Linked DNA regions of Homo sapiens: all the other regions are linked to region 3. The links are contacts of gene promoters, found by promoter capture Hi-C in blood cells and fetal thymus (Javierre and others, 2016). All regions are on one chromosome and are shown on one strand. The core of a region is centred on a gene start or on the middle of the fragment in contact, and the rest is flanking DNA. Distances in the headings are between cores, read along the strand shown.

The links. Contacts are between HindIII fragments. The CHiCAGO score rates a contact against its expected background, and 5 or more counts as called.
Region 1: a contact is called between a fragment that was not itself captured here and the fragment with the promoter of TOR3A in region 3, in 1 of 17 cell types (erythroblasts). The highest score is 5.7, in erythroblasts.
Region 2: a contact is called between a fragment that was not itself captured here and the fragment with the promoter of TOR3A in region 3, in 3 of 17 cell types (activated CD4 T cells, total CD4 T cells and naive CD8 T cells). The highest score is 5.9, in activated CD4 T cells.

The regions. Positions count from the first base shown.
Region 1 is chr1:178,783,407-178,787,739 of GRCh38, forward strand. It overlaps RALGPS2 (Ral GEF with PH domain and SH3 binding motif 2), which reads left to right. Exons shown (of 20, transcript NM_152663.5): 3 at 1,012-1,116; 4 at 2,151-2,201. Among named protein-coding and RNA genes, the nearest start is that of RALGPS2-AS1, 59 kb to the left of the region's middle. The HindIII fragment of the contact is 1,246 bases long and covers 1,063-2,308 here.
Region 2 is chr1:179,394,456-179,398,779 of GRCh38, forward strand. It overlaps AXDND1 (axonemal dynein light chain domain containing 1), which reads left to right. Exons shown (of 26, transcript NM_144696.6): 11 at 643-747. Among named protein-coding and RNA genes, the nearest start is that of AXDND1, 31 kb to the left of the region's middle. The HindIII fragment of the contact is 1,994 bases long and covers 794-2,787 here.
Region 3 is chr1:179,079,508-179,083,461 of GRCh38, forward strand. TOR3A (torsin family 3 member A) reads left to right here and starts at 2,563. Exons shown (of 6, transcript NM_022371.4): 1 at 2,563-2,880; 2 at 3,433-3,546. The coding sequence starts at 2,622. RefSeq lists silencers at 2,538-2,827, 2,968-3,137. The HindIII fragment of the contact is 9,470 bases long and covers 1-3,954 here.

The DNA of each region.
Region 1 (4,333 bases), core at 436-2,935, 300 kb before region 3:
AACACCAGAAAGACAAGAGAAAGAAGCAGAAGAAATATTTGAAGTAATAATAGTTGAGAATTTTTTAAAGTTAAGGACAGATCCCTTTCTTTGTAATGATCGTGGCTCGATACTTCGTATTTAGCTGCTACTAAAAGGGAGGAAAAGCAAAAATGAGGCATAATGACAAGTGCTTAAAACTAATACATAATAGCTGGTGGGTTGATCTGTGTGTACTGTGCTAATTGAAACTTTGATTAATTTTTTTGCTGTTATCTGTAGCCTCATATCCTACCACCATTTAATAGAGCCTGATCTAAATATTCTCATATTGATGTTCCTCTGAATTTAGCCAGCTGATACAGAATATATTATTATGTCATGGCACAGACGAAGTGGAAAATTTTTAACAGTAATAAGATTTTCAGGGCCAAAATCCACCTTTCATTCTATGTATAGCCACAACATATTCAAACTTGAAACAGTAATTTTTAAGCAGGGAAAACTTAAATTTGTAATATAATAGGAAGAATAGTATTAATTGTACTATCACAAACAGATCACATAACTAAGAATGGATTATATGTAACTCTTTAATTAACAGCATTCTGAATATTTTCTGATAACTTGTTATAAAGCTAGTTTGTCTTTTTCTTAATAAAAATTAGTTTAAAAAATTGTAAGTAAGTGTATAGCCTTCTCCCCTGACTTCCCTTTACCTTATTTGAGAATCATTGAACTAGTTAAAATCATTTATTTCTATAGGAAATGATAGGTTGTCAGGATGAGGAAACTGACACACAAGAAAATGACTCATTCAAGAACCTAAAAATTTAAAGTCACAGTTTTAGATTTCAAGTTGTCTGACCCTTTATCTGGTACTCTAACAACTAAGCAGCATGTTGTGCTCAGCTTTTCTGCAGCATTTGTTAACCTACTGTTTTGTTTTCTCAGTTTTTAAGGCCAATCTAGTTTCTATCACTTGATTGTGAGACAGTATGTAAAAGGCTGCATTTTCTTTCACTTTAACAGAAAAGTAGCAGCTCTGAATCCTTAAGTGACAAAGGCTCTGAATTGAAGAAAAGCTTTGATGCTGTGGTATTCGATGTTCTTAAGGTTACACCAGAAGAATATGCGGTAAGCCTCCTACCTCTGTCTTCTCCGGTTTTGCACATAATTTACATATTGGTGCTATTGAGTTAGAATTTGTAGGTCCAGCAAAAGAGACAGCTTTTAGAAACCTGGATATGGGAATTATTGGGGAAAATAGTACAGCTGTGGAGCAAACAGAGGGATGAAGTGGGAAAAGTAAGAAAAGCTGTACATTTTTTTTTAGGGCAACTTTATAAGTTACACTTCAATTTGGTAAGTAGCAATATGTATTTACCATTATGGTAATTGCTGTCATCCCTCTATACCATTTCTCTAAGCCAACTGTATTTTGTTGACATATCTAAGAAACATTTTCACTGGTTTTTTTAATTAAAAAATTGAAAAATGAAATATGAAGGTGTTATTAGATGAAAGGTATCTAGAAAAACATTTATTTCTTAATATAAATTTATTTGTTTTCTCATTCTCCTTTAATTTGTTAACAGAATATATTGATTTCCTAATGTTAAACCATTCCTGCATTCCAGAGATAAACTGTGCTTGGTCATAGCATATTATTCCTTGATAGTGTTGACTTTTGTCTTATATCTATAGCCATAAGTGGGATAGGTCCATAGCATATAAAGCTCTTAGATATAATGTTGGCTTTAGTGTAGTTTCATTATTTTTTTATAAGTTAGGAAGAAAACCTTTTTAGTAATATCTGATTTTATACCACTGTTTGAGGAGCTGTAATCATCATAACAAGAACACTGCTATGTGAACTAATAAATCTGGTTTTTATTTTTTGATTATAATTTAATGTGACTGTCCAAATTTTTAAAATTATTTTTATTTTTTAACTTTACACAATTTATCTTCCAAGAAAATATAAATAGACATGAGATCATTAGAAATAATTCTATTTAATGGTACAGGGGCTAAATTTTGTTTTCCATAAGCCCTTATAAAATTGAGTATTTGGTAATATTTTAGTATAGAATATAATTTTAATTTAGGTTACATGTTATGGTATAGAATTCCAAAGAAGAAATTGTCATTTTTACTTTATATTTCAGGGTCAGATAACATTAATGGATGTTCCAGTATTTAAAGCTATTCAACCAGATGTAAGTAGTTTTGAGAATGTTCCTTTTAAATATAGAAAACGATCAATCTCAAATTAAGTGTTTTAGAAATGTCAAATTATACTTCATATTAATTTTAAAATGTTTGAAGCTTGTGTTGTAACTTATCTACATACTGTTTGGGCCTCAGAAACCCACGTGGCATTCATAGCAATACATTATTGAGTCATAGATAGGACTATACTTGACATCTGAACAAAGCGGAGGTTAGGAGCATTGACACTTGCTCAGTGAAAACTCTTTCTATAACTTTTGATTCCCTGCAAACTTAACTTCAAATAGCCTGATGTTGACCAAAAGCCTTACTGGTAACATAAACAATCAACTAACACATATTTTGTATGTTATATGTATTTTGTACTCGGTTCTTACAATAAACTAGAGAAAAAATGTTACTAAGAAAATCATAAGGAAGAGAAACAATATTTACTATTCATTCAGGGGAAGCGGATCATCATAAAGGTCTTTATCCTCATTAGCCTCACATCGAGTAGACTGAGGAAGAAGGGAGATTTGTTCTGCTATCTCAAGGGTGGTAGAGGTGGAAGAAAATCCGTGTATAAGTAGACCCATGTGTTGTTTACAGGTCAGCTGTATTTGAATCATTTTGATTGATTTGGCTGCATTACTTACTGGAGGAAATAGACTTAGGGAAGTTGAATGATTTACCTATTGCTTTGAAGCTTTTTAATGGGAAGATGGAAATTTGAAACTGGGTTTCACCACTAACTCTAGTAATCTTTTCCCTTATATCTTTATTTTATGACTTAATAATATGACTGCGTTGACATTTTGGAGAGGAGAGAAAGGATCAAGAAACACATCATTTGTTTCTAATGAAAACAAAGGGACTGGCGTTATGCATCTATCCACTATAAGCATGGGGGTGTGTGTGTGTATAGTGTTCCTATCATTTTAACATCCTGAGTATGATAGTATCTCTGTTTTACTGATGAGGAAACAGTGACAATTGTCTTTGGTACACAACTAAGTGGTGGAACTGGGTTTCAGACTCTAAAATCTGATTTTTTTTAACCTCTCATCTAGTATATCAATGTGATTTTGTATTCCAAAACAAAGTCATTGATAATCCTGAAATTCAATACTACAAAATAGATACAATTTTAGTTCTTTCGGGAACAAAATATAGTGTATTCATTGTGCTATATACAAGTCTGTAGTGGCCCTGAACACTGTAATGACTATGAGTTTCCATTTATGTCCTACATGATGTAGGTAGTATTAGTCCTGTGATTTTCAAGTAAGTTACTTCCTGTCTTAGTATCTCAAATTCGATACCTATAAATGAAGGGGTGGGCCGAAATGATCGTCAGTTCCCATCATTTCCACAATTCTGTGTTTTCCTAACTTTTCCCCCATACCTCAGAGGGCTCTCTAAGTAGAACCATTGGATTAGCAATAGAAGAAGAACAATGTATTCTATAAATAAAGCACAAGAAGAAAATGGCTTTTGTATTTAAATGGCAAAAAGAAAAAACCAGAAATACTTATTTCTTCTCCTCCCTGAAAAAAAAAATCAAAAAAATGAAATTCTTTATGCAAATTACGTTTTTGACCTAAAATTCACCTGTCTTCTTCTTAGGTGTATTTTTTCCTTTTGAATGAACTGCAACAGTTGTATTGCTGCTTTATATGAGATCAGTGCTGTCTAGCAGAAATATAGTATAAGCCATTTATATAACTTTGTTTTCTGGTAGCCACATTATAAGGTAAAAAGAAAGATGAAATTGATTTTAATGATTTTATGTAACCTGCTACATACAAAATATTATCGTTTCAACTTGTAATCAGTGTAAAAAATTATTGAGATATCTTACATTCTTTTTTCTCCGCTAAGCCTTCAAATCCAACATATACAACAATTGCAGTACATCTTTATTTGGAGTAGCTATATTTCAAGTGCTTAGTAGCCATTGGTGGCTAGGAGCTTGGATATTGAAGATCCAGATAATACTACTTGAAGACATAGACTTCACATCTATGGGAAATTTTTATTCCCTTGGGGCATCTGATAGTACTTTGTGAAACTTAGAAATAAACCTTAAAATTCCCTTGACCTTTACTCCATTTATCTAATCCCTTTGATTTTTTTA
Region 2 (4,324 bases), core at 541-3,040, 310 kb after region 3:
GGCACATGCCTATAATCCCAACTACTGGGGAGGTTGAGGCAGGAGAATCACTTGAACCCGGGAGGTGGAGGTTGCAGTGAGCCAAGATCATGCCACTGCACTCTAGCCTGGGTGACGGAGCGAGACCCTGTCTCAGAAAAATAAAATAAAATAAAATACAGATGTTTACCTTAATCAGGTTTATAGAACAGTGCCATAATTATGGATGTTAACATTATGGATGTTAACATCTCAAAGAGAATAAGTATCATATAGCCATCAAAGTTAGTGATCATCTAACTTTTAACCTTGAAGCAAGATGGTTAGTGGTGAGAATAAAGAAGATAGGATAGTCATATCAGAAAGCAGGGTAGACCAGCATGGCGGCCTTGCATGTCAGCATCTGCCTCCCTCCATTCTAAAGGATCTCCCCTACATCTTATTTCTGTCTGATTCCTGCCAGCCTGATTTCATTTCCAAACCTGGCAAGATTCCATCTAGAATGTACACTCAATTTCTTGATTTGGTTTATAAGGTGGAAAAACTGGGAAGGGAGGTACACATGATAACTGAGAAGATTCCTGAATATAAATCTGATTTTCTTGGTAGAAACTTTTTGGAAATCTCCAAATATGAATTAAAAATTTCTTTGCTTTATTTCAGGGAACTGTGTCTAGTTCGGGCACATGATGTGAAATTAACAAAGGAAACAGAAAAAGCCCACAAGGATTTGGCACAAGCTCTTTTAAATGCGGAAAAGAATGCCAAGTGAGTTGCTTAAAGTTTGTTTAGCTTACATAGGGGAAAAGGAAGAAGCTTATATAGCTTCTGAAATAATATATATGATACTATAACTTCTTGAATTCTAAAATCACATATAGATAGCTTACTTTATCTGAATTTAGTTGATTTCTCATTCTGGGTGCAAAGAAGGTAAAACATGATTTTTTCTCTTGGAGATAGACCGTTGCTTTCTGCATTAATCATTTTCATTGAGTGAGGATTGCAGGCTATTACTTTCTGGTTTTCTAAAAGAAAGGGTAAAGAAACAGTGAGCATAGATAACATAGATTCTGGAACCATACTGTTTGCTGTGTGACCTTTGGGAAGTCACTTAACTTTTCTGGGCCTAAGTTTGCCCATATGTAAAATTGGGATAATAATATTACCTACCTCATAGGTTATTACGAGTATTAAAGGAAGTAATATAAGTAAAGCACTTAGAATGGTGCTTGGCATATAGTCAGTGCTATGACAATATGAAATATTCTTATAATGGTTGCTTTTAATGAAATTTTATGTCATGAAATATTTCAGACATTCAGAAAAAGAAAGCATTATAGTGAGTACTCATTTACCTTTCATGAATTACCAAATGTCAGCCATTATGTCATACTTGTTTCACACCCCATTTTTAGGAAACAAAATTTTATAGAAATATTTGGAGATTTAGGCCAGGCATGGTGGTTCACGCCTGTAATCCCAGCACTTTGGGAGGCTGAGGCAGGTGGATCACCTGAGGTTGAGAGTTTGAGACTAGCCTGGCCAACATGGCAAAACCCCATCTCTACTAAAAATACAAAAATTAGCTGGAGGTGGAGGTGCTTGCCTGTAATCCTAGCTACGTGGAAGGCTGAGGCATGAGAATTGCTTGAACCCAGGAGGCAGAGGTTGCAGTGAGCTGAGTTTGTGCCACTGCACTCCAGCCTGGGTGACAGAGTGAGATTCTGTCCCATAAAAAGAAAAAAAAAAAAAAAGAAAAATATTTGGAGATTTAAAAAAATACATCTATATCTATGTCTGTATCTCTATATATCTCCATTCTGCTTCTTCCCTCCCCAGAGTTAATCACTAATCAATAGTTGGTATGTAACTTTCCTATCCATGTTTTTATATTTTACTATAATACATAGTTACATATAAAAAAATTTGCGGCTGGGCACAGTGGCTCACGCCTGTAATCTCAGCACTTTGGGAGGCCGAGGTGGGTGGATGATGAGGTCAGGAGATCGAGACCATCCTGGCCAACACGGTGAAACCCTGTCTCTACTAAAAATACAAAAAATTAGCTGACATGGTGGCACGTACCTGTAGTCCCAGCTACTTGGGAGGCTGAGGCAGGAGAATTGCTTGAACCCAGGAGGCGGAGGTTGCAGTGAGCCGAGACTGCGCCACTGCACTCCAGCACTCTAGCCTGGGCGACAGAGCAAGACTCCATCTCAAAAAAAAAAAAACTTGCTTTTACCAACTAAATACTATTCTTTTGAGATCTTCTCGTTATGATGCATATAGAACAAATATTTCTGCACTATAATATTAACCATATGACTAAATTATAATTTATGTATTAATGTATAATTTATGTATCAATCACTCAGAATGGATTTTTCCATTTGCTTGGTAGATTTTTCTCCATCCCTTTATTTTGAGCATATGGGTGTCATTGCATGTGAGATGAGTCTCTTGAAGATAGCATACCAATGGGTCTTGTTTCTTTATCCAGCCTGCAACTCTGTGCCTTTTAATCAGGACATTTAGCCCATTTACATTTAAGGTAAACCAGTAAAGATATATATAGATTTGATCCTGTCATCATGTTAGCTGGTTATAATGCAGACTTGTTTGTGTGGTTGCTTCATAGTGTCACTGGTCTGTGTACTTATGTGTTTTTTAATAGCAGCTGGTAATGGTCTTTCCTTTCCATATTTAGTGCTTCCTTCAGGAGCTCTTTTAAGGCAGATCTGGTGGTAATGAATTTTCTCAGCACTTGCTTGTCTATAAAGGATCTTATTTCCCCTTCACTTATGAAGCTTAGTTTGGACATATATAAAATTCTGGGTTGGAATTTCTTTTTTTAAAGAATGTTGAATATTGGCTTCCAATCTCTTACGGCTTGTAGGGTTTCTGCTGAGAGGTCCACTGTTAGTCTGATGGGCTTCCTTTTGTAGGTGACCTGACTTTTCTTTCTAGATGCCTTTAACCTTTTTTCTTTTATTTTGACTTTTGAGAATCTGATGATTATGTGCCTTGAGGATGATCTTCTTGTGAAGTATTGTACTAGGGTTTTCTGCATTTTCTGAATTTGAATGTTGGTCTCTCTACCTACGTTGGGGAAATCCTCATGGATGATACCCTAAAATATGTTTTCCAAGTTGCTTACACTCACCCTATCTCTTTCAGGGACATCAATGAGTCATAGATTTGGTATCTTTACATAATCCCACATTTCTCCAAGGTTTTGTTCATTCCTTTTTATTCTTTTTTCTCTATTCTTGTCTGACTCTCTTATTTCAGAAAACCAGTCTTCAAGTTCTGAGATTCTTTCTTCAACTTGGTTTATTCTGCTATTAATACTTGTAATTGCATTATGAAGTTATTGTAGAACATTTTTTCAGCTCTATCAGCCCAGTTACAGTCTTTTTTATACTGGCTATTTTGTCTGTCAGCTCCTTTATCATTTTATTGTGATTCATAGCATCCTTGAATTGGGTTTCAGCATACTCCTGCATCTTAATGATCTTCATTCCTATCCATAGCATGAATTCTGTTTGTGTCATTTCTGCCATCTCAGCCCAGTTCAGAACCCTTGCTGGAGAGGTGGTGCGATCATTTGGAGGAAAGAAGGCACTCTGGCTTTTTGAGTTGTCAGAGTCCTTGTGTTGTTTTTTTCTCATATTTGTGGGCTGATGTTTGTTTCATCTTTGAAGTTGCTGATGTTTGGGTGTTTTTTTCCCCTTTTATCCTATATGATGACATCGAGAGTTTGATTGTGGTATAAAATGGATTCAACCAACTGGCTTTATTTCTGGAAGATTCTAGGGGGCCAACGCTCAGCTTCCAACTCCTGGACCGTGTACTCCAACTCTGGGGGACTTGTATTGGGACCAGCTTTGTTCTCTGCTCCTTGAGGTTAGGAATCCACTGCACTGGGGGGAGCTGAGGTGCTCCTGGACCACTGGTCACTACACTCTGTTGGGTGGTGTCAGCCAAAGCCTTTCATAGTGCTGTGGCAGTGGGATCTGCCCTTGTTTTCATGTGTCAGCAGCAGCAGTAGTGGCAATGTTGTGGGGGTGCATTCTCATTGGCTGCAACAGGTGCTGGGGTGCCTGCTTCCATGTGGGTGTCACCACAGAGTGGAGGCAGCACAGCTGGAAGAGGGTTGGGGGGCCCCTGCTGGCAACTGTGTGCACAGTTGTGCTGGTGGTGGTCTTAGCATGGGGGCAAGGCTCTGGCAGATGCAGGTCTATGTGCATTCTCTGTGAGCTGCAGGCAGGGGTGGTCACTCAGGGCAGGGGAGAGTCCACTGTTCTCTGAGCTTAGTTTTACTCTTGGAGGAGTGTTGCCA
Region 3 (3,954 bases), core at 1,313-3,812:
TTTACCTCTTTTTTTTTTTTTTTTGGAAAAAAACGGCCAGGCGCAGTGGCTCACGCCTGTAATCCCAACACTTTGGGAGGCTAAGGCAGGCAGGCAGATCACCTGAGGCCAGGAGTTCGAGACCAGCCTGGCCAACATGGCGAAACCCCGTCTCTACTAAAAATACAAAAAAAAAAAAAAAGCGGGGGCGTGGTGGTGAACGCCTGTAATCCCAGCTACTTGGGAGGCTGAGGGGGAAGAATCGCTTGAACCGGGGAGGCGGAGGTTGCAGTGAGCCGAGATTGCACCACTGCACTCCAGCCTGGGCGACAGAGCAAGACTCCGTCTCTAAATAAATAAATAAATAAATAAATAAATAATAAAAATGTCTTGAAATCAAGTTGGTTGTCGAAGAACTTCCCAGCTAACCTACTTTATTTACAATGGGATGCTAAATCCAAGTCAGAACATCTCAGAAATGAGCAGGTAGCCCTACATAAAAGTTCCAAGTACAGATAATTCTTTCCACAACATCTTAAAACTTGGATTGTTTTAATAAACTATTGTTACTATTAATTTTTTCACCATAAATTCACTTATAAACCACCAGTATTAACTAAAGCCATCCTTGCCTCCTGTGTAGACCACCCAGAGCCTCCTCCATGGCTGGGTAGATACAAAAATAAAACTGGCCACGTATTGAGTGTTGATGATGTGCTCATTGAATGAGCTCATTTAATCTTCACAGCAGCCCTATGAGGGGACTATTTTATTATCCCTTTTTATAGGTGAGGAAACAGGCATGGGACGGTTCAGTAACATCCATGGTTGCACAAATAGAAAATGGTAATCACTATATTAGACTGCCATTCAGACTCAAACGACATTTGTTGAGTGAGTTAATTTTTTTTCTTTTCTCTTTTTTCTTTTTTTTTTTTTTTTGAGATGGAGCCCTGCTCTGTCACCCAGGCTGGAGTGCAGTGGTACCATCTTGGCTCACTGCAACCTCTGCCCCCTGGGTTCAAGCCATTCTCCTGCCTCAGCCTCCTGAGTAGCTGGGATTACAGATGCGCACCATCACACTCAGCTAATTTTTGGATTTTTAGTAGAGACTGGGTTTCACCATGTTGGCCAGGCTGGTCTCGAACTCCTGATCTCAGGTGATCCGCCCGCCTCGGCCTTCTAAAGTGCTAGGATTACAGGCGTGAGCCACCACACCCTGCCTAATTTTTTTTGGTTTTCCAATAAGCACTGTGGTGTATGTGCTGTTAACTGTCTCCGGTGGACTCCGCAAGCTCGATGTACACAGTGCTGGGCTGGTGCCATGGCTGCTACTCTATGAAAAGTTTTTGACATCACACTGAATGGCTGAGACACTATAAACATTTTACTTTTCAACTCAACCTCGTGTCCTAGCAAAGGTGCTTTATCTAGTTTCTGTAGCTGTTCGAATGAAAGGCACAAATTTGGTGAGCTGCTGAGAATGGAGCAGACCTGGCACGGTGTGATCTAAGAGACTGGGGTGAACAGATGAATCAAGTTGCCTGTGACATTTGTGAGACACGGTGCTAGTATTCACCTTACTGTCTGGAGGGCCCAACCTCAAAGCCACTAAACATATGACATTAGCCAAGTCCTCTGATCTCTCTAGACAGCAGTTTTCTCCTAAGACAAGACGGCTTTTTGGCTTGGCTGAAGTAAGCCAGGTGATTTTAAACAATGCATTAAGCTCTTCTGAAATCTAACAGCCTTGTTCCATGCTCCTCGCTATGGAGAAGAGAGCGCTGAGGGAAAGAGGCCCTGTAGTCTTTTGCCAATGGTGTCGGATGGGCTGCTCAGTCCCAGCACTTGAAAGTTGCAAACCTAGTCAAGAAAGTGCACACAGTACTTCGGATTTTTATGAGATATAATTACATTGACATGACGCCTCATGATTTACCCATGACTCGGGGGGTTTCCAAACTCCAAACACCTCCAGACTGGAGCCCGTCAATCAGCTTCCTCTTGCTTTTCGTGGACTCCCACTGTGGAAACCTGCTGGTGTTTTGCTGCGGTTTCATTTCCCTCTGCGGAGGAGCCAGGGCAACCTTGGCCAGACAGGCACCTAGCTGTGCCCTTCTTTCCAGGGCCTCTTCTCCACTCAGCTGACTCCCCTGGCCTGCCTAACGCTCCTGACTGAGACGGTTTTCCGGCTTCCTCTAACAGGTTGGCGGGAAGTTGATCTGCAAACGCGAGGCAAAGCAGGAGTGTCCTTATTCGGTAGGCCTCTGATGGGCCACCAGAGCCGTCCGAAAGTCCTAGCGGAGTGATTGACAGTGGCCATTTCAAAGCCTGAGTTCACCTTCTTTGCAACCACAATCACGACCCAGAATAAACTGCTTCCTGGAAGCCGGCTAGTTGCACCTGGCCTGAAGTCAGTCTCGGGACTGCCTCTCAGGACCCCAGACAGGGTTTCGGGTTCCCGCCTGGGTCACGTGTACGGAGGCTGCCAGTGCGCACTCAGCCCGGCCCGCCGGTCGCCACAGCAACACCAATCCCGGGTTCAAGCCCGCCTAGGAAGTGCGGTCCCCGCCTGACCGCCCCGGGCTTAAGGGAGCCTGGCTAGGCCGGCAGCCGGATGGTCCCGCAGCTCGGGGCCGGCCATGCTTCGCGGTCCGTGGCGCCAGCTTTGGCTCTTTTTCCTGCTGCTGCTCCCGGGCGCGCCTGAGCCCCGCGGCGCCTCCAGGCCGTGGGAGGGAACCGACGAGCCGGGCTCGGCCTGGGCCTGGCCGGGCTTCCAGCGCCTGCAGGAGCAGCTCAGGGCGGCGGGTGCCCTCTCCAAGCGGTACTGGACGCTCTTCAGCTGCCAGGTGTGGCCCGACGACTGTGACGAGGACGAGGAGGCAGCCACGGGGCCCCTGGGTAAGACCCCGTCCCCACGGTCCGCCGTTCGCTGCGGAGCAGAGTGCGATCCGGGCGCGGCTGTGGTCGCCTCGCTCCTGTCCGGGGCGACATCTGGGCCCGCAGTCCTGCTCTGCTCAGCCGCCGGTACCGGCTGTGGGCGGGGGCAGCCTCCGCGGAGCAGGGAGCCCCATCACCGCCCTTGCCCCACCCGCGTCCCCTGCGCACCCCCCTGGCGCCCGGCTTCCCGTCCCCCGCCTCCCCTGATCCCTGCGCTTTCCAGATTCTCTCGCACCGCCTGTGCCATCTCCCAGCCCACCCTGGCGTTATTCGAAGGTGTTGCTCTTGACAGCTCTAGGGAACGTCCGCTGTGGACATGCCTGGTGACTGCCGTCTCCCTTGCTGCTTTTGGACGCAGGGCTTGAGGACCGACAGTGGGCCGAGTCGGGGCTGGGAGTTAGAATCTGAGTTCTGGGTGTCCCTCTGTCCCTGACAAGTTGTGTGGCAAGGTTGCCGCATCACTGTAGAGCACCGGATGGTCTCCTCTCGGTCTCACAGCTCCTCCTTTTCCAGGCTGGCGCCTTCCTCTGTTGGGCCAGCGGTACCTGGACCTCCTGACCACGTGGTACTGCAGCTTCAAAGACTGCTGCCCTAGAGGGGATTGCAGAATCTCCAACAACTTTACAGGTTGGACCCCGCATGGCTTCAAGGGGCTAGGGATCTGTGGGGAGGGGAGGCAGTCCAGGGGAAATGGTTAGATGCAAGGGACCTTTCGTCATCCTGCCCAGCCTCCCGACAAGCAGGAACTGCCACAGTCTGACTGAAGTTTTGAGGGAGTACCAAATGCTTGAGTCAGGGAAGCCCCTTTTTAGCCTCTAGCTTAATAGCCCAGGCAAACTGAGCTGTTTGTCAGGCCCAGAGCACCTTGTTTCACTCTAAACAGAAACAGCTACCTCTCAGAGGGGGCTGGAACTATCCAGAGAGAACTGATCAGAAATTCTGGGTTGTGATTAAAAGTGTCCCTTTCTTTTCTTTTTTTTTTTTGAGACGGAGGCTTGCTCTGTCACCCACACTGGAGTGCAGTGGTGCGATCTC